Regions from separate parts of the Homo sapiens genome. Here regions 1, 2, 3, 4, 6 and 7 are each linked to region 5. Evidence: promoter capture Hi-C in 16 types of primary human blood cells and fetal thymus (Javierre and others, 2016). All regions are on one chromosome and are shown on one strand. Each heading gives the region's core, a stretch centred on a gene start or on the middle of the fragment in contact. The rest is flanking DNA. Distances are from core to core; before and after follow the strand shown. Region 1 overlaps NELFCD (negative elongation factor complex member C/D). Region 2 has its middle 2.9 kb from the start of CTSZ. Region 3 overlaps RBM38 (RNA binding motif protein 38). Region 4 has its middle 5.3 kb from the start of SLMO2-ATP5E. Region 5 holds the start of RAB22A (RAB22A, member RAS oncogene family). Region 6 overlaps RAE1 (ribonucleic acid export 1). Region 7 overlaps ZBP1 (Z-DNA binding protein 1).

The links. The method cuts DNA at HindIII sites, captures the fragments that hold promoters and counts their contacts. A CHiCAGO score of 5 or more calls a contact.
Region 1: a fragment that was not itself captured here is called in contact with the fragment with the promoter of RAB22A in region 5 in 1 of 17 cell types (neutrophils); the score reaches 6.5 in neutrophils.
Region 2: a fragment that was not itself captured here is called in contact with the fragment with the promoter of RAB22A in region 5 in 1 of 17 cell types (neutrophils); the score reaches 5.8 in neutrophils.
Region 3: a fragment that was not itself captured here is called in contact with the fragment with the promoter of RAB22A in region 5 in 1 of 17 cell types (neutrophils); the score reaches 5.7 in neutrophils.
Region 4: a contact is called between a fragment that was not itself captured here and the fragment with the promoter of RAB22A in region 5, in 1 of 17 cell types (neutrophils). The highest score is 6.0, in neutrophils.
Region 6: a contact is called between a fragment that was not itself captured here and the fragment with the promoter of RAB22A in region 5, in 1 of 17 cell types (monocytes). The highest score is 5.5, in monocytes.
Region 7: a contact is called between a fragment that was not itself captured here and the fragment with the promoter of RAB22A in region 5, in 1 of 17 cell types (total CD8 T cells). The highest score is 6.0, in total CD8 T cells.

What each region holds. Positions count from the first base shown.
Region 1 is chr20:58,990,784-58,994,052 of GRCh38, forward strand. It overlaps NELFCD (negative elongation factor complex member C/D), which reads left to right. Exons shown (of 15, transcript NM_198976.4): 8 at 127-292; 9 at 529-663; 10 at 1,098-1,237; 11 at 2,215-2,329; 12 at 2,666-2,761; 13 at 2,841-2,981. Among named protein-coding and RNA genes, the nearest start is that of NELFCD, 11 kb to the left of the region's middle. The HindIII fragment of the contact is 1,395 bases long and covers 1,323-2,717 here.
Region 2 is chr20:59,008,483-59,011,757 of GRCh38, forward strand. No RefSeq gene overlaps it. Among named protein-coding and RNA genes, the nearest start is that of CTSZ, 2.9 kb to the left of the region's middle. RefSeq lists an enhancer at 1-25. The HindIII fragment of the contact is 1,400 bases long and covers 813-2,212 here.
Region 3 is chr20:57,407,348-57,410,665 of GRCh38, forward strand. RBM38 (RNA binding motif protein 38) reads left to right here. Exons shown (of 4, transcript NM_017495.6): 4 at 196-1,986. The coding sequence ends at 499. Among named protein-coding and RNA genes, the nearest start is that of RBM38-AS1, 16 kb to the left of the region's middle. RefSeq lists enhancers at 1,620-2,125, 2,293-2,452, 3,163-3,292 and a silencer at 2,798-2,967. The HindIII fragment of the contact is 9,296 bases long and covers 1-3,318 here.
Region 4 is chr20:59,046,446-59,049,855 of GRCh38, forward strand. No RefSeq gene overlaps it. Among named protein-coding and RNA genes, the nearest start is that of SLMO2-ATP5E, 5.3 kb to the left of the region's middle. The HindIII fragment of the contact is 8,431 bases long and covers 1-3,410 here.
Region 5 is chr20:58,308,379-58,311,638 of GRCh38, forward strand. RAB22A (RAB22A, member RAS oncogene family) reads left to right here and starts at 1,337. Exons shown (of 7, transcript NM_020673.3): 1 at 1,337-1,634; 2 at 2,665-2,744. The coding sequence starts at 1,599. It also overlaps the pseudogene PPP4R1L. RefSeq lists silencers at 806-1,365, 1,406-1,735. The HindIII fragment of the contact is 7,008 bases long and covers 1-2,169 here.
Region 6 is chr20:57,353,431-57,356,406 of GRCh38, forward strand. It overlaps RAE1 (ribonucleic acid export 1), which reads left to right. Exons shown (of 12, transcript NM_003610.4): 2 at 602-698; 3 at 1,282-1,386. The coding sequence starts at 609. Among named protein-coding and RNA genes, the nearest start is that of RAE1, 3.7 kb to the left of the region's middle. The HindIII fragment of the contact is 1,499 bases long and covers 801-2,299 here.
Region 7 is chr20:57,605,036-57,608,386 of GRCh38, forward strand. All of the region lies in intron 7 of ZBP1 (Z-DNA binding protein 1), which reads right to left. Among named protein-coding and RNA genes, the nearest start is that of ZBP1, 14 kb to the right of the region's middle. The HindIII fragment of the contact is 791 bases long and covers 1,560-2,350 here.

The DNA of each region.
Region 1 (3,269 bases), core at 770-3,269, 680 kb after region 5:
TCAGTCAGTATACTCGTGAATGACAGAAAAACAGATCCCAACAATGCAAAGTATTATATGTGTAAAAAAGAACAGAAAAAAGAAGCTGCCTTGTTAGTAACGGGGTCTATGGTTTTTCTCATCAAGAGGTCATGACGCCAGTCAGATCACACTAGCCTTGGGCACAGCTGCCTCCTACCCCAGGGCCTGCCAGGCTCTCGGGGCCATGCTGTCCAAAGGAGCCCTGAACCCTGCTGACATCACCGTCCTGTTCAAGATGTTCACAAGCATGGACCCTCCTCCGGTTGAACTTGTAAGTTGCTTCTCAAGAATCCCCAATGTCAGCTGGTAAGGTGACTTTGGAAAGTCTGTGCTTGTCTGATTGTCTGAAGGCTGTGAATGCAAATCCATCATTGTCCTGGTCCTTCCTCAGTCACACTCTCTGCCTGGAGCCTGTTGGGCCCCTGCTGTGTAGGGAACCCTGAGGGGAGGTGGGTGAGCAGTGCCCTCACGCCTGCCATCCCGAACTGGGCATATGCTTCTCCTCAGATCCGCGTTCCAGCCTTCCTGGACCTGTTCATGCAGTCACTCTTTAAACCAGGGGCTCGGATCAACCAGGACCACAAGCACAAATACATCCACATCTTGGCGTACGCAGCAAGCGTGGTTGAGACCTGGAAGAAGGTACCATCGGTTCTGGGAATTTGTGGATTTTTTAGGAGACAAATATCCTCCTCTGCTTTGATATTATTTTGGAATTTTGGCTGCAAGAAATCTTGACCCTCCCTAGTATCAGGCATGTGTTTTCTTGTGTTTCTGCGTAGAGAAAGCACTAAACGTCTCCAGAAAATGTGCGTAATGTCTCCAATGCTCTGCAAACCGTAAATTGAAATGTGACTAAAGAAATGAAACTGATTTCCGTAAGACATGGACAAACACTAGTCTCATTGCTTTTCAGTTTCTGTACACTGTGTGACTGTGAAGTTTGACAGCTGAATTGACTCCCAACTTAAGTAGAAATAGGGAAAGTGCTTTGCAAGAAGTGGCCGACACCAGAACACCCCGACAGCAGGGATATCTGCCCTGTCAGGCTCACCAGCTTGTGTGTGTGTTTTCAGAACAAGCGAGTGAGCATCAATAAAGATGAGCTGAAGTCAACGTCAAAAGCTGTCGAAACCGTTCACAATTTGTGTTGCAACGAGAACAAAGGGGCCTCTGAACTAGTGGCAGAATTGAGCACACTTTATCAGTGTATTAGGTAAGCAAAACGAAACTCAGTTCTTAAATCAGTCCTTTGGGGAGGAGGTCGTTTGAGTTTTCATATTGAAAGCTCAAATAACAAAAGCTTCAGCGATACTTGTTCATTTTATTTATTTTTTCATTTTTAAACAGTATGTAGGGAACTTTAAACAGCTTTAGCAGCATGAGTAATTTTCAGATGTTTATTTGCCAGAAGTCTGTTGAGTACAAATTAGGCTAAGTAAAAGATAGCCAGAGTTAACAAAAATTGATTTGAAGGGTCTATTTATAGGTAAAGTTATGCCCACAAAGTATTGCTTACATAGAAATGATTTGTGATTATGCCAATCATATAAATAGACGTGTCCTAGAAATAGTGTGTCCTCTTAGGCATGTCTTTCCCCTAATAATTTATACTAGGGATGAAGAAAGAGTTTGCTAAATAAAGGTAAACTTCAACCCAGTCCACCAAACTCACTGAGTATCACTCATTAATGATCTTTTCCTTTCGATAAGTGGTTTAAAGTGAGCAGAGAATTGAACTCTGCTTCTTGCACCGCATGTTGAGTGGCTGCTGATCCATTCACACTATTTACTAATAAGCAGAGCTTACGCCAGGCACAGTGGCTCTGGCCTGGAATCCCAGCAATCTGGGAGGCCAAGGCAAGAAAATAGTTTGAGCCCAGGAGTTTGAGACCAGTCTGAGCAACATGGTGGACCCTCTCTCTACAAAAAATTAGCTAGACATGGTGGCACTCACCTGTAGTCCCAGGTACTCGGGAGGCTGCAGTGAGCCATGATTGTGTCATTGTACTCCAGCCTGGAAGACAGAGTGAGACCCTGTCTCAAAAAAAAAAAAAAAAAAGGGTTGGGGGGCGTATTGAAGGGTGAATGATGGAGTCATTTGAGTTTGTTTTTAACTTTCCTTTAATGCTTTTCTAGCATATTTTGTGTTTTAAATTGTTTTTTAAAGGAAGCATTCTGCCTTAACTGTAGGTTTCCAGTGGTAGCAATGGGTGTGCTGAAGTGGGTGGATTGGACTGTATCAGAACCAAGGTACTTTCAGCTGCAGACTGACCATACCCCTGTCCACCTGGCGTTGCTGGATGAGGTAAGAGGGCGGAGAGCTGTTCACAGCCTACACAGTGTCTGTCTCATGCTGTTTACGTTGGCATTAACATTGCATCTATTCAGTGAGTTTAGAGGATACTCTTCTCAAAAATAGTTATTTCTGTCCTGAGGATTTTCCTCTTAAGGACCTAGCTTCATTGACTGCAGAAATTTCTTAACCTCAGTCAAGTGTTACTGGAAGCTGATGGCCCTGGCTTAGGTGTCAGGACCTTCTTCCACAGTGATAAGCTCTTTGGTGGCTGTGACAGTGCCCAGTTTCTCTGTGTGCTGAGCGTGACCACACTGCTCAGCGAAGCTCCCTCTGGCCTGTTTGTAGATCAGCACCTGCCACCAGCTCCTGCACCCCCAGGTCCTGCAGCTGCTTGTTAAGCTTTTTGAGACTGAGCACTCCCAGCTGGACGTGATGGAGCAGGTGAGCAGTGCCCGTGGGGCTTGCCAGAGGGCTGAGGAGGACCCTCTCTAACCAGCTCCCTGTCCCCCTTCTTCTGTAGCTTGAGTTGAAGAAGACACTGCTGGACAGGATGGTTCACCTGCTGAGTCGAGGTTATGTACTTCCTGTTGTCAGTTACATCCGAAAGTGTCTGGAGAAGCTGGACACTGACATTTCACTCATTCGCTATTTTGTCACTGAGGTCAGCAATGCACCGTTGGTTTCATGTTTCATACTGTTTACACTAGCACTGCCCTTTTTGGCTTAATTTAGTTCATTTTGTACCTAACTGAGAACTGTGCTTTCTGATGTAGTGATGACAATGACAGATACTCGTTTACCAAAAAGCACCTTCTGCCTGCAGCAGCTGTATGACACACTTTACCTCCATTACCACCCTGGGCATCTGAATGTTGGAGATGGGTGGTGTCACCGGCCGGTGGGGGTGGGGAGGGATTTTTTCCAAACTGATGGCCATTTCACCCGGATG
Region 2 (3,275 bases), core at 263-2,762, 700 kb after region 5:
GGCCTCCCAACCTCTGGGCATAAAAGGAGTGGAAAGAGAATTGCCAAGAGGGGGCCTTTCTTCCTCCCATGTCAACCCTCTGGCCTCCCTGACTATAGGAGCTGGGTCCTTGTGAGGAAGAAACCCAGACACAGCTGCCCTTGCCAGGTCATCAGGTGGCATCTACCAAAGCGGCCGGTTTTTGGCTTCTTCTAAAGAAAAAGCTAAGAACTCACAAAATTGTGTGGTAAGAGATATCGTGCCCCTCCCTCCAGGTACCCATAGTTATGATCCAGGTACTGTGAAGTCCAACAGCACATTCTACAGCATGAGAAACAAGCCTGGAGAGGGGAGGGCCCCTTGTGCTTGGCCTCTGATGCCTGAGCTGTGATGTCCTGGGCCCTGGTCCCTGAATCTGGGTGAAAAGGCACCCAAGGTGTAAGCTTTTCTTTCCTGTAGCATGGGGAGAGCTGGGGTGCTCTGAAGATGCCCCGAGACTCTCCGAGCAGGTCCAGCGCATGTAGAAGGTATGACAGGCATGGTCAGCAAGGCAGGCACACGACCCCTGCAGTCACATGAGGCCCTAAGTCCAGAAGTGTAATGCAGAGCTGAACGAGGGGCTCTCCAGGTTCACTGTGCCCTGGGCCCTGCAAATTATGTAGCTGGGTCTGATGACAGCAACCACACCTGCTCCATCACAAGTCCTGTACATCACCCGCTTTCAGCCCAGAGCCTCTGGCAAATCAAACTCACAAACAGGGGTCAGGAGGAGGGGTGAGATGGTCAGGAAGGGGAATAAACATTCACAGTCCTGCTCCCAAATGCTGGCACAAAGCTTAATTTATCTGGGGAGTTCCAAAGAGGAGACTCTCCGGATTTACCCTATTGAAAGTTGGTTAAAGGGAAGGATATTTTTAGGCTGGTAACAAAAAGGACGTCCAAAGTTGACAACTTGTGCCCCCTGGGTTTCCCTAACATAGAAGCAATTCAAGATCAGAATCTGATGGAATAGGGCAGGAAGAGAGGGAGGGAGCCTATCCATTTGAAATCATCATTTACTTTTTCTTTTCTTTTTTTTTTTTTGGAGACAGAGTCTCGCTCTGTCACCTGGGCTGGAGTGCAATGGAGCAATATCGGCTCACTGCAACCTCCACCTCCTGGGTTCACGCAATTCTCCTGCCTCAGCCTCCTGAGTAGCTGGGATTACAGGCACACACCATCACACCTGGCTAAGTTTTTGTATTTTTAGTAGAGATAGGGTTTCACTACGTTGGCCAGACTGGTCTCGAGCTTCTGACCCCGTGATCCTGCCGCCTCGGCCTCCCAAAGTGCTGGGATTACAGGTGTGAGCCACCGCGCCTGGTCTGAAATCATCATTTTCAAGCCAAGAAGGAAGGAAGGGGGCCTGATGAGACTTATCTCTCCAGCCTCTTCTCATGGGTCCAACACAGCAAACCACGCAGAGACAGGGCTCCTCATCTCTGAACCTGGCCCTAGTCGAGTGGATGCATGTCTGGCTGCCAGACTGCTCCGAGAAGCTGGCGGGCTGTGTCATTTTGGGGGTTACTAAAATCGTGCAGCAGAGGATCCTAAATAGGATTTTTGGTTTTCTTGGTTTTGGGGTTTTTGTTGGTTGTTTTTGTTTTTCCCTTAACTCGATGCAAGATCTTAAACATGTTCCTTGTGGGGGCGGGGTTGGGGATGGCCACAAACCCACCCAAACTCAAATTCCAGTGCTGCTATTAGTGAAGGATGTTTAGCTGGAGGAGTTCTCTGAAGGGCACACAGATAAAACCAGGAGGTGTCTGGGACTGGAAAAAGAGGAGGGAGCACATTGGGAACCTGATAGACAGGCCACCCCAGCCATTTCTTGCTGGGGACTGCTTGCTGGGGGTTGAGTTTAGCCCCAGAGCTGTGTCTCTCTCTTCAAAGCAGACTCACCTGCAGAGCAGCTTGGGGACTCTTGGAAACCGGAAAGGTGTTTCCTCCTGACTTGGCTGCAGGTGCCTGCAAGGTGGTTTTGTGGATACTGACTCTTCTTCTCATCTGGGCCGGGATCCGAAGAGGCTTGGGGCAGGGCACTTGGACCTTCCTACCTCTGAGGCCCTACTTGCCTAAGCATTGCTTCTAGCAGCTCTTTATAAGCAGCTGTGTGCCACCGCCTTCCAGCTTGGGGCAGAATTGAGTAGGTATTTAGAGCAAGGCGTCTCCCCTGAAACCACTTTGCCTGGAAAGCTTGGCACCTATCCTGGGTTTTCCTTCCTGGAGGTAATGGAGTCATTCCTGCTCCCAGTGGTGCTTGAGGGCAGAGGGCTGAGCCAATGACATTCTAGAGGACTGTGCAGCCGCATTTGATCCTTTGCACAATGCTGTGAGGTGGGGGTGGGGGTTGGGAGGCAGATGCTATTACTCCATTCTACTGGCGAAAAGACTGAGCCTCTGGAGATGTCAGGTGACCTGTGCTCAGCACGAGGCTCCTGGGTGGCAGGTTCCAATCCAGTCCCTTTTTTTTTTTTTTTTTTTAACCCCATGAATTCTCCTGGAAAACACATGATCCAAGGCCACAGACACAAAAGCCTATTCATTTCTAAAAATAAGGCTGATTTTTCTCCTCATTCTGATAAAGATCAGCACTCAGGCCACGGCTGGCCCACCTTCCCAACCTGGAGGAGGAGAACACAGATGAGTTTTCATCGACTGTGGAATGGCCTCGAAATCCTTTTTCTTCTTCCTTTGTGCCATATTGTCTGGCTTCCACCCCGGCAAGCTGCAGACATTTCCTATTATTCCACATTCCTGAGTTTAGCCACATCCTGGATACCGGCATTTGTTTGGGTGGATGCCGACAATGCTCGCTAGGCTAGGCTGGTTTTGCAGGGCACGACGGTTCCCTCACCAGCTACAGGAGTTCCTCTTGATCCACTTGGTCAACGGGTCAGAGGCACTCGCTAACACCCAGATATCTCTGCAGTGCAGGCCTTCAGATAGGGCGGGCCAGGTTTGCAATCCACCATGCCACTGTCCCCAAGCACCACCATGCATCACATCCTGGCCTGGTTGTGTTATGGGAAAGGGGATCCCAACCCAGATCCCAAGAGAGGGTTCTTGGACCTCACGCAAGAAGGAATTCGGGGAAAGTCCATAAAGTGAAAGCAAGTTTATTAAGAAAGCAAAGGAATAAAAGAATAGCTCCTCCACAGGCAGAGCGGCAGCACGGGGTGCTCAGCTATTTATAGTTACTGTTACTTCTTCATTATACACTGAACAAGGAGTGGATCATTCATGAGTTTTTTGGA
Region 3 (3,318 bases), core at 467-2,966, 900 kb before region 5:
GTGGTTAGTGCAGACAGTCAGTGCGAAGGCCTTGAGGCGGCAGCATCTGGCCAGGTGCTGTTTCTGTGCCCATCTGACCGATGAGGAAAGTCGGGGCTCGGGGTGGGGGGCGGCACGCATCGTGTACCCCACTGTTCTCCCAGCTGTATTCCCCAACTCCGTTCTGGCCCTAACCTGCTCTGCTTGGCCCCACAGGCTGACCCCGCACTACATCTACCCACCAGCCATCGTGCAGCCCAGCGTGGTGATCCCAGCCGCCCCTGTCCCGTCGCTGTCCTCGCCCTACATTGAGTACACGCCGGCCAGCCCGGCCTACGCCCAGTACCCACCGGCCACCTATGACCAGTACCCATACGCCGCCTCGCCTGCCACGGCTGCCAGCTTCGTGGGCTACAGCTACCCTGCCGCCGTGCCCCAGGCCCTCTCAGCCGCAGCACCCGCGGGCACCACTTTCGTGCAGTACCAGGCGCCGCAGCTGCAGCCTGACAGGATGCAGTGAGGGGCGTTCCTGCCCCGAGGACTGTGGCATTGTCACCTTCACAGCAGACAGAGCTGCCAGGCCATGATGGGCTGGCGACAGCCCGGCTGAGCTTCAGTGAGGTGCCACCAGCACCCGTGCCTCCGAAGACCGCTCGGGCATTCCGCCTGCGCCCTGGGACAGCGGAGAGACGGCTTCTCTTTAATCTAGGTCCCATTGTGTCTTGAGGGAGGACTTTAAGAATGACTGAGAACTATTTAAAGACGCAATCCCAGGTTCCTTGCACACCATGGCAGCCTCTCCTTGCACCTTCTCCTGCCTCTCCACACTCCAGGTTCCCTCAGGCTTGTGTCCCCACTGCTGCATCGTGGCGGGGTGTCACAGACCCTCTGCAGCCCCTGGCTGCCCTGGACTGTGCAGAGATGCCTGACTCCAGGGAAACCTGAAAGCAAGAAGTTAATGGACTGTTTATTGTAACTTGATCCTCCCGAGCTGTGAGCGCAGTCTGAGGTGTGAGGACACGGCCTCCTGTTGGAGTCCCATTTTCTCCATCAGGGCACGTGGGCGGCTTCCTCAAGCCCGGAGGAGCTCCCAGGCGCACAGGGGCCGCCGGTAACAGGGGCCGCCGGCCAAAGGCCCCTTTCCAGTCATAGCACTGAAGTTGCAACTTTTTTCTTGTAATTGTTTTGCTACTAAGATAATTTCAGAAGTTCAGTCTATTTTTTCAGCGGATACTGCCGCCACCAAGAATCCAAAACCTATTTTTGACTTGGAGAGACTTGCTTTTGTTGGTTCCGCCCGTGGAGACGACGATAGTGTTTCTGTATAATAAAGTGTCTGCCGGCTCGCGGGCCAGGATCCTCTCGGTGGGATGGGCACCACAGACAGGAGGCCCCTCAGGCCCGTGCGGGCCACTGTCTGCTGCCGCCTGCCGGGGTGGCAGAGTGAGTTGTCTCAGGACCCCGTCACTGCGACGTTGACACTCCTCTCCCTTCCCTTCCTCCCCAACTCCCCAAACACTGTGGAAGGGGAGAAGGAAGTGATCCACAGCATTCAGGCCACTTGGGGTCTAGACCATGGTGGTGCCAGCCTGGGGGGGGCAGTGGCCCTCAGCTCTGCCCGCTGGAGCGGTTGAGTGCAGAAGGGTGCGCCTCTTCCCTCTACCCCCGCACCACCTGCTGTGTGCCAGCCTGAGACGGTTCCTGCCTGTCTTGGGGGTTGGTGGAGGGTGGAGGCAGTTCTGCCAGCCGTGGCAGGGCTGCTATGGGGCATCCAGGGCTGTGGGGGTCTGGAGGAGGGGACATGAGGTGAGAGGTATCCTGGCCGAGGGCGGGGGGCAGCGGGGGGTCTCCCTCCGGACCTACCTCAGGGAGCTGAGCGTGCAGGCGCTCCAGGGCAGGCCTGGGACAGAGTCAAGGCTCAGAGAATAAAGGTAGCTAATCTCATCATAATATTTTTATTAGAATGTTCTGATGATAAAAATAAAACTTGTTTTCTTTAAAGAAAAAGTTGATCTAATTTTTCTCAAAACGCAGAGCTCCCCTCGTGCCTGTGGGCATCACCCATGCCCCGCCCTCCTGGCTCAGGAACCCAGGATTTCACTGGCAGCCGTGCATAGAGCGCCTGGCCTGCACCGGCCGCTGAGCCTCAGTAGCAGAACAGACGCAGCCCCTCTTCACACCCGCTAATGCAGGGGAGGCCTGGCGTCCCAGCCGCCGTGCATCATCCAGCATCAGCTTCAGACCCGGAGAGGACTGCGCTTGGGTTACTTCTTGGCGCTGTGGCTGGGGAGGGGCCTGGACGTGGATTGTGATTGGCAGCCCCACCAGATCCCTGTGGAATAGGAGGACAGTTCCCCCAGAGAAGGGGGGTTGCCACCAGAAGACCCTGAATGTGGGTTCCTGAGAGGACGTTGGCAGGTGTCCAGGACAGCTGCCCTTAGGGTAGAGTTGGGAGGGAAGCCTTGGTCTGGGGCTGGATAGTCCCAGCATCTGGAACTCAGAGCTGGGGAAATCACAAGGCCTTCATAGAGGAGGTGTCAGGGCTGGAGAATCCATCAACTCCTTCCTTGAATTGCTCACTCACTGTGTCATCCCGAGACGTGTGCTGGGTCACACGCAAAGCGCTGGGGATAGAGCAGACAGGGCTGCCCTTTGGGTTTATCATCTGCTGGGGGAGACACAACAATGCCCCAGGGTGATGGAGACTGACAGGTTTACGGCAGGGAGGGGATAGGGATTCTGTGGGGGTCTGCACTTCTTCCCAGGCCCTGCCGGCTGGCCCCTCCCTCCCACTGTCTCAGTTTGCAAACGCTTGTGAGGGGTCAGGGAGGGCAGCATGGGGCTTTCAGCCCGGAGGAGGAGACTTGCTGCAGCTGATAAGAACTTGGGGATCCACGGAGGGGGGCTACGGGTACTGCCAGGGTTATCGTGAAGGCCACTCGCAGCCTGCAAGTTTCCTGTCACTATCAGCTGGTGACAGCCTCTGGGACAGGCCTTCGGGAAGGCCCTGAGGCCTTGAAAACATCTCCTGGGTCCCAGGATTGAAGGCTCTGGATAGTGACAAACCCAGGAGAGGGAATTTCTAAGTCACCGAGTTGGGTGGGGAGAGGGGCCGGCTGAGGGCAGCAGGGATGCAGAGCGCGGCCACCAGCCCCAGCAACAAGGGTCATAAACCCCAGCACTGCAGCACCAACATCTGCCGCCACTGACTCAGGTCCCCACGCTGTGCCACGCACTTTCATGGATGGTCTCAGTTACCCTCCAGGTATCTCCATTATCAGACCGGTGAACTAAGATGCTTAGGAGTGGAGCCCACATTGCCTGGGCCCCCAAGAGATG
Region 4 (3,410 bases), core at 651-3,150, 740 kb after region 5:
TTGTCCCGCATTCTTGTCACAGAGCTCCTAAAACCCTTGGGATTTCCTGAATGATAGGGATGCCTTTGATTATTTATAACAAGCTCCTTTTGATACCATCTCCAGGTAGATGGTGTTGGAATTGTAATGGCTGCTAGAGAATTGTGTGGTTGGTGGAGAGAACTCCCACACATCTATGTCGGAACGTATGTGTGTTGAGAGTCTAGTAGTAGGAAAAACCATGTGTTTTTGTCAGAATCAGCTTCCTTACAAATACACTTGAAAGGAAACTTTATATAACTACTTTCATTAGAAAACCAGTATTTTTACCCTGATAAATGCTAAATACATGACTCTTAAAATAAGGCAGTGAGCCCCGTGGGCCTTCCTAACACCTTCTCGTCTCCTCACAAAGTGGGCATGTCTCACTTTGGTGCTGACTTCCAAACTTCCCAGGTGCTTTTTGGACTCTCATCCATTCTCCTCAAACTCCAAGCCACCTTTTCCTCTGAATCTCTCAGCAGTGACCTTTATCTCTAAATTCACTGTGAACTCCTTCAACTGTCTTCTTCTCTTTGTATTCTCATGAATCCTTTCCGTATATCTTCTTAACTCTGAGAATCTTTCTCTCTTTCCCTCCCTCCTTCCCTCCCTCCCTCCTTCCTTCCTTCTTTCCTTCCTTCCTCTCTCTTTCTCTCTCTCTTTCTTTCTTCCTTTCTTTCAACAGAGTCTTGCTCTGTCTCCCAGGCTGGCGTGCAGTGGCGTGATCTTGGCTCACTGCAACCTCCTCCTCCTAGGTTCAAACAATTCCCCTGCCTCAGCCTCTTGAGTAGCTGGGATTACAGGCATGCACCACCGCTGGCTAATTTTTGTATTTCTAGTAGAGATGGGATTTCGCCATCTTGGCCAGGCTGGTCTCAAACTCCTGACCTCAAGTGATCCACCTGCCTTGGCTTCCCAAAGTGCTGGGATTACAGGCGTGAGCCACCATGCCCGGCCTCGTTTTTACATTTTTATTTTAGAGACAGAGCTTTGCTCTGTTGCCTAGGCTGGAGTGCAGCAGCATGATTATGGCTTACTGCAGCTTTGACCTCCTGGGCTAAATCGATCCTCCTGCCTCAGCCTCCCGAGTAGCTGGAACTACAGATGCGTGCCACCATGCCCGGCCATGATAATGTGTCCCTTCTCCTTTCCAGTCTTTTTGTCTGTGCTCCCTTCATTTAGTCATTGCACAAATAACAACTGATCATCTATTCTGGGTCATCCCTATCACACTACAGCAGCAGGTGACAATTTCCCTAGGGACGATATTCCCCAGGGGACATTGGCACTGTCTGGAGACATGCTCGGTTGTCCCAACTGGTGGTGAGGGTGCCACTGGCATCTGTGGGTAGAGGCCAGCGATGCTGCTAAACATCCTACAATGCACAAGTTGGCAACTGACTCCCTGCCCCAACAAAGAGGGATCTGGCCCCAAATGTTGACAACGTCAGTGTTGAAACCCTGGGGTTCATCTAACAGGCTCTTATCTCTGTCCCCGTCTACCTGTCTGGCTTTGATGTTTTCTCCTCCCATTCTCCAACTCAGCTGAACCCACAGCCACATAAATCTCTCGCTATCCTTACAGGCCATGCATTTCCACACCCTTGAACTTTGCACATGGTGTTCTCTCCACCCAGAATGCACTTTCCTCTGATTTGCCCTGGAAAGTCTTACTCATATCTTGAGATTCTGTGCAAATACTCTACTCTCCAAGTGTCTCACTGATACGCCTCTCCCCACTAGCTGAGCACAGTGCCTTGTTTCGGCTTCTGTGCTCCTGTTTGCATTTGACACAGCCCTCATTATGACACATCACTGTGGAAGTGTTGTGTGTGTGTCCACACTGCAATTTAAAGTCCAAAGTGATGACTTCTGTGTTAGAAGGATGGGGGTGGGAGCATGGCTCCTTATCAACCTCTTCATCATTTGAGTCCTTACTATAAATGTGGCCACACAGTGAAGCAAGAATCATCATAACAAGAAAATATTTGCCACTGAACCAAATCTGTACATATAAACTTGGTGCCTTATGAAAGCAGCAGCATAGATCCTCATCGCTTGAACCTATGTGATTGCTGGTTAGTCTCCCACTGATTGTCCAAGGCTAAAAATAACACAAGTGGTTGGAAAGTGAAACCAAAACTCTTGGAGAAGATGCAGAATTTCATCAAGTTGATGAGAATGATATTCAAGAACTCCTTCATTATACACTAACCCATCAATAGATGACTTTGTGTAGAATTAAAGCAGTTAACATTTGAGCAGACAAAATTGGCAAGGGATGGTTCACAAAGAAAATGATATGAATGGCTAAAAGTTGGGAAAGACCCTTGGGAAAAATATTCGAGTCCTTGAATATTTCTGCAAAGATGTCCATCTCTGCGACTGAGTTGTGAAATTCAAACATATTTTGCAGTGCTATTTTCCAGTTTGGTGAGGAAAATCATTGCAGAAACCAGCACTTGGTTCATTCTATGTGATAACAATTTGATAGAGTTACAATTTTAATCTAACACATGTATGTATATATATATATCTCATATAAATATCTATCATTATATATATCACTAAATATACACATATGGATATATGTGTATATATATAAACTTACTATCATTACTTTATTTTATGTTATTTATTTATTTTTGAGATGGAGTCTCACTCTGTCGCCCAGGCTGGAGGGCAGTGGCACAATCTAGGTTCACTGCAACCTCTGCCTCCTGGGTTCAAGCAAATCTCCTGTCTCAGCCTCTCAAGTAGCTGGGATTACAGGCACCCGCCACCACACCTGGCTACTTTTTGTATTTTTAGTAGAGATGGGTTTTCACCATGTTGGTCAGGCTGGTCTTGAACTCCTGACCTCAAGTGATCCGCCACCTCGGCCTCCCAAAGTGCTGGGATTACAGGTGTGAGCCACCACGCCCAGTCAGTATCATCATTTTATGTTTCATTTTTCAGGGTAAAGTGTCAGCTGCACTTTTTGTTTTTCATCATTTACTGTAAAATATTGATGTTGCTTTTAAGTGGATTTGCTTTCAGTGAGCTTATTGGGTACCAATTGCATACCAGAAATGACAGCTTTCTTCAAACTCCAACAGCTAGGACTACACAGGGAGGTCGGTGAGGAGAGAGATGCAATCAGTACTTCGGTTACAAACAATAAGGGCAGCGGTGATAGGAGAGGAGCAGGAAATTGGAGCCATGTTTAGGAAGCTGTACTGGCACAGCCCGGGACACTCTTACCTTTTCACTTGTGGCCCAGGTGGCCCTGATGGAATAGAGAGCCAGAGTCTGCGTGGCCATAGAATAAGCCAGAGAGAAGTGACCAGCACAGCTCAAGCCTGAGATTTCAACATCCCTATCAGCTCTCCAACCTAGGGAGTGTAACT
Region 5 (3,260 bases), core at 87-2,586:
GGATGATTTATATAGGGCTTCTTCACCAGCAAGCACTCCGGTGCTCGGTAATTTTCTGTTTACAAGTAGGCTCTCCCCACACCCTGTGAGCTCCCTGCGTGTAGAGCTGTTTTCAACACATCCTTGCAGGTTCGGAGCCCAACACGTGGCCCCCAGAGCAAATAGCTGCTCAGTAAGTTTCTTGACAGGAGAGAAAACGCTTCCTTCCTTCACCAGAAATGCGAACTTGGATTTCTAAGATGACACCTCCCCCAGCTACCAGCCCTTAACATGATTCCAAAAAAGAGGGCAAGAAGGGACAAGGGTCCCACCCAAGAAATGCGGGGGCCAATGGGCTCCATGGGATAAGAGATGGAGCCGGGCTTGTGGCCAGGACACTTGAGAAGTCCGTGCAACTCCGTGACCGGCCACACCGAGAGGGGGACCTCCCAAACCCCCCAGCAGTCCTAAAAAGTCCCTAGGAAAAGGGCAAGGCCCTGAGAGGGAAGTCACCCACCTCCCAGGTGGCGGACCCCCCGCCCGCCCAGGGTCGACTAGGACTTGGGACTACCCCCTCCGCCCATCCCACGGCAGCTGCAGGCGCAGGAAGAAAAGAAGTGACAGGGAGTCCAAAGTTTCCCCAACAACAAAAATCCTTCCCCCGAGGGAAGGGAAGGGCTCCCACCCTCAGCCCGCCCCGCCCAGGGAGGAGGGACCGCCACCAGTGGATCTAGGCAGTTGGGGGTCCCGCTGTTCTGGTCCCGACAAGGAGTGCCTGGCTTGAGGTTCCCCCGCCCCGCGCTTCGTGCACTCTGAATTCTTTGAGAGGGTCCCAGGGAGGGACAGGGGTGCCCCAACTCTTACTTACAGTCGTCTAAGTCATCCTGCAAGTCCACAAAGTACAGGGGGATCTCTGAAAACCAAGAAACACACAAGAAGTTACCAGGGGGCTGCGGCGAGAGGGGACGGGGTCGGGCAGGGGCCCCTCGGCCTCGCGGGGTGGTCACGGGGCGAGAGAGAGAGGGGCACCCCTGGCATCCCCCGAGCCCAGCCCCACTCACCCGCCATCTTGGGATGGGCATGGAGGCGGGACCGGCAGGGGCGGGGCCCTGCAGACAGGGGCGGGGCCCTGCAGACAGGGGCGGGGCCCTGCAGACAGGGGCGGGGCCCTGCAGACAGGGGCGGGGCCCTGCAGACAGGGGCGGGGCCCTGCAGACAGGGGCGGGGCCCTGCAGACAGGGGCGGGGCCCTGCAGACAGGGGCGGGGCCGTCGGCTTCGGGCCCCGCCCCCGATCCGCGCCGGCCGGCCGGCCCCGCCCTCTCAGCGAAGGTGGCTGCCGAGGTGGGCGGGGAGGTCAGGTGACGCGGCCGGCGTCCCAAGATGGCGGCGGCGGCGGCTCCCGGAAGGCCGCGGCGGCGTCCCGGCTGCTAAGGCGGGCCCCACGCGGCTGGCAGCGGACAGGCCGGACCTACGGCCGGAGGACGGGCGGCAGCCGCCTCTGCGCGGACCGGGGCTGGGCCGTGCGGCGGCAGCGGCGCCAGGGGATGCTCTTGCTGGGCCTGGCCTCTCCCTTCTCAACTTAGGGCGGCGGCGGGCCCGCGCCCCTGGCTCCCGGGCCATGGCGCTGAGGGAGCTCAAAGTGTGTCTGCTCGGGGTGAGTGGCGGCGGGTCCGGCCGGGAGGGCCACGGGAGGCTGGGCTGGCGGGGACCCCGGATCCCCCCTGTCCCCTCATCCCTTCCCCCCTCCCACGTCCAAGACGCTGTCTGCCAGCCCCGTGGACCCTCCCTCCAGCTCGGGAGCCGTCCCGCCCACCTCTTGCACTCTCGAAAAGGTCCTGGAGGCCGAAGGGACCCTTCCCCTTCCCCTCCCTGGAGCCCGTGGACTCTTCCCGCCCCACAAAGAGCAAACAGCCCCCCCTTGCCTCTCTATTGCATCTGGGTTAAGAGAGGTTCTTAAATAGTTTTCTCCCAACTTACCAAGGTATTAGTTGGGAGTTGGCCAAGTCTTCCAAAGTAAAACCAATAACAGGTCTTTAGGTTTTACAAGCAGCATTAGCCTACTTTGTCTCTTGGGTGTTTTTGAACTTGTGGGATACCCCTGCCACTTGTCCAAAGAGTTACTTTGCCAAGTAACTCTTCCTGTGGAGAAAAGGGGTGTTCAAATCAGGAAGCCCCAAAGACTAGTTTGAAGCTTCAGCTTCCTGTCTTGTCAGGAAAGACAAGGTGTTGGCCATTTCAAAGCCTTCTTTCTGAAATTGATGCTGTCATTCCAGAGTTTCTGCCTTAAAGATCGGCAGGAACTCCAATAACTAATCTTTATTCCCCCAAATAGGGTGGGGCTAGGATTCATCAGGGATTACTCAGAGGTAACTCAGGAGTTCAAAGTTTACTAACATATGTTAAAAAGCAAGTGGACTTGTTACTTTTTACACGAAGCAGAAACTTTGGGTCTCTCAAAAGGTCCTAATCTGTCTTAACGGCAAAAACCTCTCCCTTTTAGTACAGTTGGAATTTCCTAATTACTCTACTGAATTTTTATGACAACCGCTTTTGTGTTCCTCCGTTTATAAAATTTACACGTCTAGGGTGATTTTTCTAAAATCCTGAACTTATGCCACAAAGTAGTTTTTGGTGTCTGCCAAAAGGTAAACTTTTTCTCAGTCCCTCATCTCGTTCTCTTTCAGGATACAGGTGTAGGTAAATCGAGTATTGTGTGGCGGTTTGTGGAAGACAGTTTTGATCCAAACATCAACCCAACAATAGGGTAAGAGACTTTTATTTGATACACATCTAAAGGTGCATTGAAAATCCTTCCAAATACATAGTGTGTTACAGGTGTAGGCCCTGCGCTTTGTAGTCATTGAATTCTGAGTCGCTGGTTCGCATCATCTCTGGAAGGACTTGAAAGAGTCCAGTGAGGATCTGTGTATTTTAGGAAAATTATCTTCGGACTTGTTGGGGGTGAGAACTTCAAAATGCAAATATGAATTGGAGTTCTACTAATTATTAGAACAGACACAGAAGCTTCGGTCTATAAATATCAACAGCAATTACACCTTGAAATAAGGCAGATGAAAATAGATCCTGGTGCTATTCTTTCAGGCATATCAAGTAAAAGACATTTAAATGGTTTTTGTCCTTCCTGAAAGTAGTAGGTTGAGATCTGAACCCTTACACATTCCTGTACTGGTAGTAATAATAAATTAATAAATTCATATTGAAATGGAAGGTTTTTTCAGTTCTCTGGTTCTATGGATAAGTAAAGTTGATTGTTCATATG
Region 6 (2,976 bases), core at 300-2,799, 950 kb before region 5:
CAGGGTGGGAGAGGTTCTTGCTGGGTAAATGTCCAAAACACGATGCCCGACCTTTTTAAAACTTTTACGAAGAAATTGCTGATTCGCTTCCCGGACTGGTTGTTCTAGGTAGTTTCATGCGGATGCTGACCTAAACTAGAATGTAGAAATTAGTAGGAAAGTGAATGCCCACTAGGTGGAAACCTGAAAGCACGGGGACCTGCGATCTTGTTTACTGTTATATTCCTGCTGCGCAGCTCAGGGTCTCTATGTAAAAAATGAGTGAATTTATTTTCTAGCTGGTGCCTACAAAATAATCTGCAATGTATCCATACTGGTTTATTAATGGTAACAAATGAACCGTACTAATATGAGATAATAGGGGAAACTAGATATGGAGTGTATGGGAATTCTATCTTTACTATTTCTGGAAACCTAAAACTACTCTAAAATAGAAGGTTTATGTTTTGAAAGCACTCTGCTCATTGCGCTCTTGTCTGAAAAGTGAAGCCTGGCCTCAAGCCACTTTGAGTATTTCTCTTCTGCCAGTTAATTATCTTACCATTGCCTCTCAGTGATATTAAGAGAAAACCCATCCTTAACATTTTTCATTACTTTTTAGGTTCAAAATGAGCCTGTTTGGAACAACCTCAGGTTTTGGAACCAGTGGGACCAGCATGTTTGGCAGTGCAACTACAGACAATCACAATCCCATGAAGGTACCACGAAAAGCTTCCTGGGGCTTGTAGGAAGAGTTTGGGCAGAGTTTCTCCCATCAAGGACAGAACCCGAGATGACTTGGGAGCCTCCTTTAGGCTGAAAGCTTTGAAACTTTGTCTAACTCATGTTTCTGAAACACTGGAGCACAGAAAATGTGTCCCCGTACTTGTGTCCTGTTCTTCCTGGCCTGCCAGGTCTCCAGAATCACCCAAGGTGCAGATTCCGGTGCAGATTCCCAGGGCCTGGCCCAGCCAGGACTGTTGACTCAGAATTCCCATGGTTGGAGAGAGGGGATGGCAGGTGAAAACTGTGATCTAGCACTGTGGGGCCAGAGTGAACTGGTCATTTAGAAAACAAGACCATGGGCATTTCATTAGCAGCTGCTACTGCTAGTCCTGGTGGTGCTGGTACTTTCTCTAGCTTATTTTTTACTCCTGTCTTTGATCAAAGTAAGGAAAGGTCTAATTCAGTTAGTTCTTGTACACAAGGAAAGGCCACCGTGAGGTAATTAGTGAGAAAGAAAACAATTTGGAATGAAGTTGTGAGCGTGCATACATTTTAACATTGACTTTTTTCCCGCAGGATATTGAAGTAACATCATCTCCTGATGATAGCATTGGTTGTCTGTCTTTTAGCCCACCAACCTTGCCGGGGAACTTTCTTATTGCAGGATCATGGGCTAATGATGTAAGTGCTCCTTAAATACGTGTTCTAGAAATCATCTCTCTTTGTATGGCCAAGGTTAGCTTTAGCTCCGTTGTTTCCCAAGTAAATGAATCAGTTGGACTTATTTATGGCCTTTTTTGAGAAATCAATTTAGGGGGTGTGAACCCTTCTGAATGGCAGACATTATTCTTACACCCGTTTTTGTTAGGAAAGCACAATCATATGTGTTGCTCGAAATTTTCTACTTTAGTTCAGTCTCTTGAAGTTTATTCCCAAATCAAATATCATATTCATCCAGAGTGAACATTATACCCAGTGGCACACACCAACAAATTCCCTTTCTTGGCATCCTGACAGTGTTCCTCAGGCATGTATGAAACTTTTTCAACGTTAAATAATAGCACAGATTTGCCTAGATACTTACTCATCATGTACAAAAAGAAAGACAAAAAAATTACAGTTTACTAAAAGAAAGAAAACTCTGGTAGAAAAATAAGCAAAGGGTGTAAAGAGGGACTTCACAAAAGAAAGAATAAACCTGAACCATTCATCCATGCTTGTAATCAGATAAATGCAAATTTAAGACTTTTTTTTATTAAATTAACAAAATTAAAAGTTTAAAAGAATAATAGTGCCAGCAAGGATAAGCTGAAACCCTGCATGTATGGCTGGTAGGTATGTAAGTTGGCTTTTCCACAGGATAATTGGCAATAGTTATCAAAAATCCTTCAGCTTATACCCTTTATCTCACTGATACCCTTCTGGGACTTGAGTAGGAAATCTGATAATGTACTTCATCTGCATTATCTAAATTAACCTTTATAACAGCCAAAGCACTGTGAACTTGTGAAAATTTTGAAAATTTTAATATCCAGTAGTAATGGCAATGTATAGTATGTTTGTATGATGGAATACCATTGTAAGTTTTTGGAAAAGCTTTTGAACTGTAGCCTACAGCACAGGGGCAGCAGGGGTTAGGAGAACAGGAGGGAGGATGGTAGTCAAGGTTGAGCAAGCTTGCTTTCTACATGTAATTTTTAGAAAGATTTCAGATTATTTGCTGCTTAAAAAAAGGATGTTTCAAGTTGAACAGGCTAGTGATGCAGGTGAGGAAAGCTGTAGCTGCAAAAGTGAAGACACTGTATAATCTAGTGTCTTCCAGAAAATATGCGTACATGGAAAGAAGACTAAGAGCACACAGAACCATTAGCTGTGGTTGTCTGTGGTGTGATTAGGGTGATTTTTATTTTTTTGCCATATTTACAAAATCTCTAAAATGTATTACTTTTTTAACGGAGGGGAGATTATATAAAGTATTCAGAAAAGAGGTAAGTTTCTACTTTGGTCTTGATTCTCTGAATGGTAATGGGTAAGTGATATTCTACTTTAAAAGACATATCTCATAGATGCATTGAGAAAATTATCTGCAATTTTATGTGTAAGCAATAGAATTTGTTTATTTTAATAGCTTAGGCGAAGAAAACAGTTGCTTTCATAGATATTTTAATTCCTTTGTTCTTGAAGTTAGATAATTAGGTTGCTATGAGAAGTCTATGTATGGTTAAGGTGTACCCCATTAGTTTTTAGGTGTTAAATGCAAGCAATACATCG
Region 7 (3,351 bases), core at 705-3,204, 700 kb before region 5:
TCCTCCCAGGGACCCCAAAAGACGGCTCTACATGCTCTGGCACTGACAGTCTCTGATTAGCAATTTCCTCAAACAAAACAAAACAAAACAAAACAAAACAAAACAAAAACCATTCCAGGCCTTACACATCTCAGGATAAGGTCCCGCCCGCCACTCAAGGAGGAAGTGACAGGCAGACCTCATTTTATCTCACTTTACCTTATTGTACTTTGGTTTATTACACTTCATAGATATTGCACTCATTTTTCACAAGTTGAAGGTTTGTGGCACCCTGTGTGAAGCGAGTCTATCAGTGCCAATTTTTCCAGCAGCATATGCTCACTTCCTGTCTCTGCGTCACATTTTGGTAATCCTCACAATATTTCACACTTTTTCATTTTGATTATATGTGTTATGGTGATCTGTGACCAGTGATCTTTGATGTTGCTATTATAATTGCTTTGCTTTGGGGTGCCACAAATATCACCTGTAGAAGATGACGAAGTTAATTAATAAATCTGTGTGCTCTAACCTGTCACTGATCAGCCATCTCCTCCTCTCTCTCCCTCTCCTCAGGCCTCCCTATTCCTTGAAGACACAACAATATTGAAATTAGGAAAATTCATAACCCTACAATGGGCCGGGCGCCGTGGGTCACACCTAGAATCCCAACACTTTGGGAGGCTGAGGTGGGCAGATCACCTGAGGTTGGGAGTTCAAGACCAGCCTGACCTACATGGAGAAACCCCATCTCTACTAAAAATACAAAGTTAGCCAGGCGTGGTGGTGCAGGTCTGTAATCACAGCGACCCAGGAGGCTGAAGCAAAAGAATCCCTTGAACCTGGGAGGTGGAGGTTGCAGTGAGCCAAGATTGTGCCATTGCACTCCAGCCTAGACAACGAGAGCAAAACTCCATCTCAAAAATAAATAAATAAATAAATAAATAACCCCAAACGGCCTCTATGTGCTAAAGTGAAAGGAAGAGTTGCACGTCTCTCACTTTAAATCAAAAGTGAGAAATGATTAAGCTTGGTGAGGGAGGCATGTCCAAAGCTAAGACAAGTTGAAAGCTAGGTCAAAAGTTAGCCAAATTGTGAAGGCAAAGGAAAGGGTCTTGAAGGATATTAAAAGTCTTACTTCAGCAAACACATGAGTGATGAGAAAGTGAACCAGCCTTGTGGCTAGTGTGGAGAAAGTTTTAGTGGTCTGGATAGAGGATCGAGCCAGCTACAACAATCTCTTAAACCTAAGCCTCGTCTAGGGCAAGGCCCTTGCTCTATTCAATTCTAAAGGCTGAGAGAGGTGAGGAAGCTGCAGAAGAATAGTTGGAAGTGAGCAGAGGTTGGTTCATGAGGTTTAAGGAAAGAAACCGTCCCCATAACATGCAAGTGTGAGGTGAAGCAGCAAGTGCTGATGGAGAAGCTGCAGCAGGTTACCCGGAAGCTCTAGCTAAGATCATTGATGAGCGTGACTACACAACAGAGCAGGTTCTTAATGTAGATGAAACAGCCTTCTATTGAAAAAAGATGTCATCTAGAACTTTCATAACTCGAAAGGAGATGTCAATGCCTGGCTTCAAAGCTTCAAAGGGGACAGGCTCTCTTGTTGGAGATTAATGTAGCTGGTGACTTTCAGCTGAAGCCTCTCCTCAATTACCATTTTGGAAATTCTAGGGCCCTTAAGAATGATGCTAAATCGACTCTGCCTATGTTCTATGAATGAAGCAACAAAGCTAGATGAGAGCACCTGTATATAGCTTGGTTTACTGAATATTTTAAGCCTAGCATTGAGACTTACTGCTTAGAAAACAAAATATTCCTTTGAACATTTCACTGCTCATCGTCCATACCACAGGATCTGAGTGTTCCGCATCCTGGATTGAGGGCCAAAAAAAAATTTTTTTTTTACTACTCGTTGACAATGCACCTGTTCATCCACGGGCTCTGATGGAGATGTAAAAAAGAATTAACATTGTTTTCATGCCTGCTAGCACAGCATCCATTCTGCAGCCCATGGATTAAGGAGTAACTTCAACATTCACTTCTTATTCTTCAATAAATATATTTTATGAGGGCATAAGTGCAACACAGAGTGATTCCTCAGATGGATCTGGGCAAAGTAAGTTGAAAATCTTCTGGAAAAGATCACCAATCTACATGCCGTTAAGAACATTTGTGATTCATGGGAGGAGGTCAAACTATCAACATTCACAGGAGTCTGGAAGAAGTTGATTCCAAATTTCATGAATGACTTTGAGGGGTTCAAGACTTCAGTGAAGGCAGCAACTGCAAATGTGGTGGAAATAGCAGGAAAACACAAATTAGAAGTGGAATATGAAGATGGGACTGAATTGCTGCAATCTCATGAGAAAGCTTGAACAGATGAGTTGCTTCTTATGGATGAGCAAAGAAAGTGGTTTCTTGAGATGGCATCTATTCCTGGTGAAGATACTGCGAACATTCTTGAAATGACAACAAAGGATTTAGACTGCTATATAAACCTAGTTGGTAAAGCAGCAGCAGGGTTGGGGAGTCTTGGTTCCAATTTTGAAAGAAGTTCTAGTATGAGTAAAATGCCATCAAACAGCATTGCATGCTACAGAGAAAGCTTTCATGAAAGGAAGAGTTCATTGCTGCAGCGAACTTCATTGTTGCCTTATTTTAAGAAATTGCCACAGCTGCCTCCACCTTCAGCAACCACCACCCTGATCAGTCAGCAGCCATCAACATCAAGGCAAGACCTCCACCAGCATAGAGATGATGACTGGCAGAAGACAGGTGATGGTTAGCATTTTTAGCAATAAAGTATTTTAAAATTAAGGTATGTACATTGTTTTTTAGATATAACGTGATTCAGTGCACACCTAATAGACTAGAGCATCGTGTGAATATAACTTGTATATGCACTGGGAAATCAAAAATTTGCATGACTTGCTTTATTGGGGTGTTCTGGAACTCACCCATAATATCTCTGAGCTATGCCTATTGATGTCTCTTGGGGACAAAGAGAGGTGGGTGGGTCAGGGCAAGGGGCAAAGATGTCATCAGCTCTTCTGCTAGAACCTTAGGGAAGAATGTCAGGATGTTGCAGGGCAAATCTGGGAGTGTGACCATTTTTTTTTTTTGAGACAGAGTCTTGCTCTGTCGCCCAGGCTGGAGTGCAGTGGCATGATCTTGGCTCACTGCAAGCTCCGCCTCCCAGGTTTACGCCATTCTCCTGCCTCAGCCTCCTGAGTAGCTGGGACTACATGTGCCCGCCACCATGCCTGGCTAATTTTTTGTATTTTTTAGTAGAGAGAGGGTTTCACCGTGTTAGCCAGGATGGTCTCGATCTCCTGACCTCGTGATCCACCTGCCTCGGCCTCCCAAAGT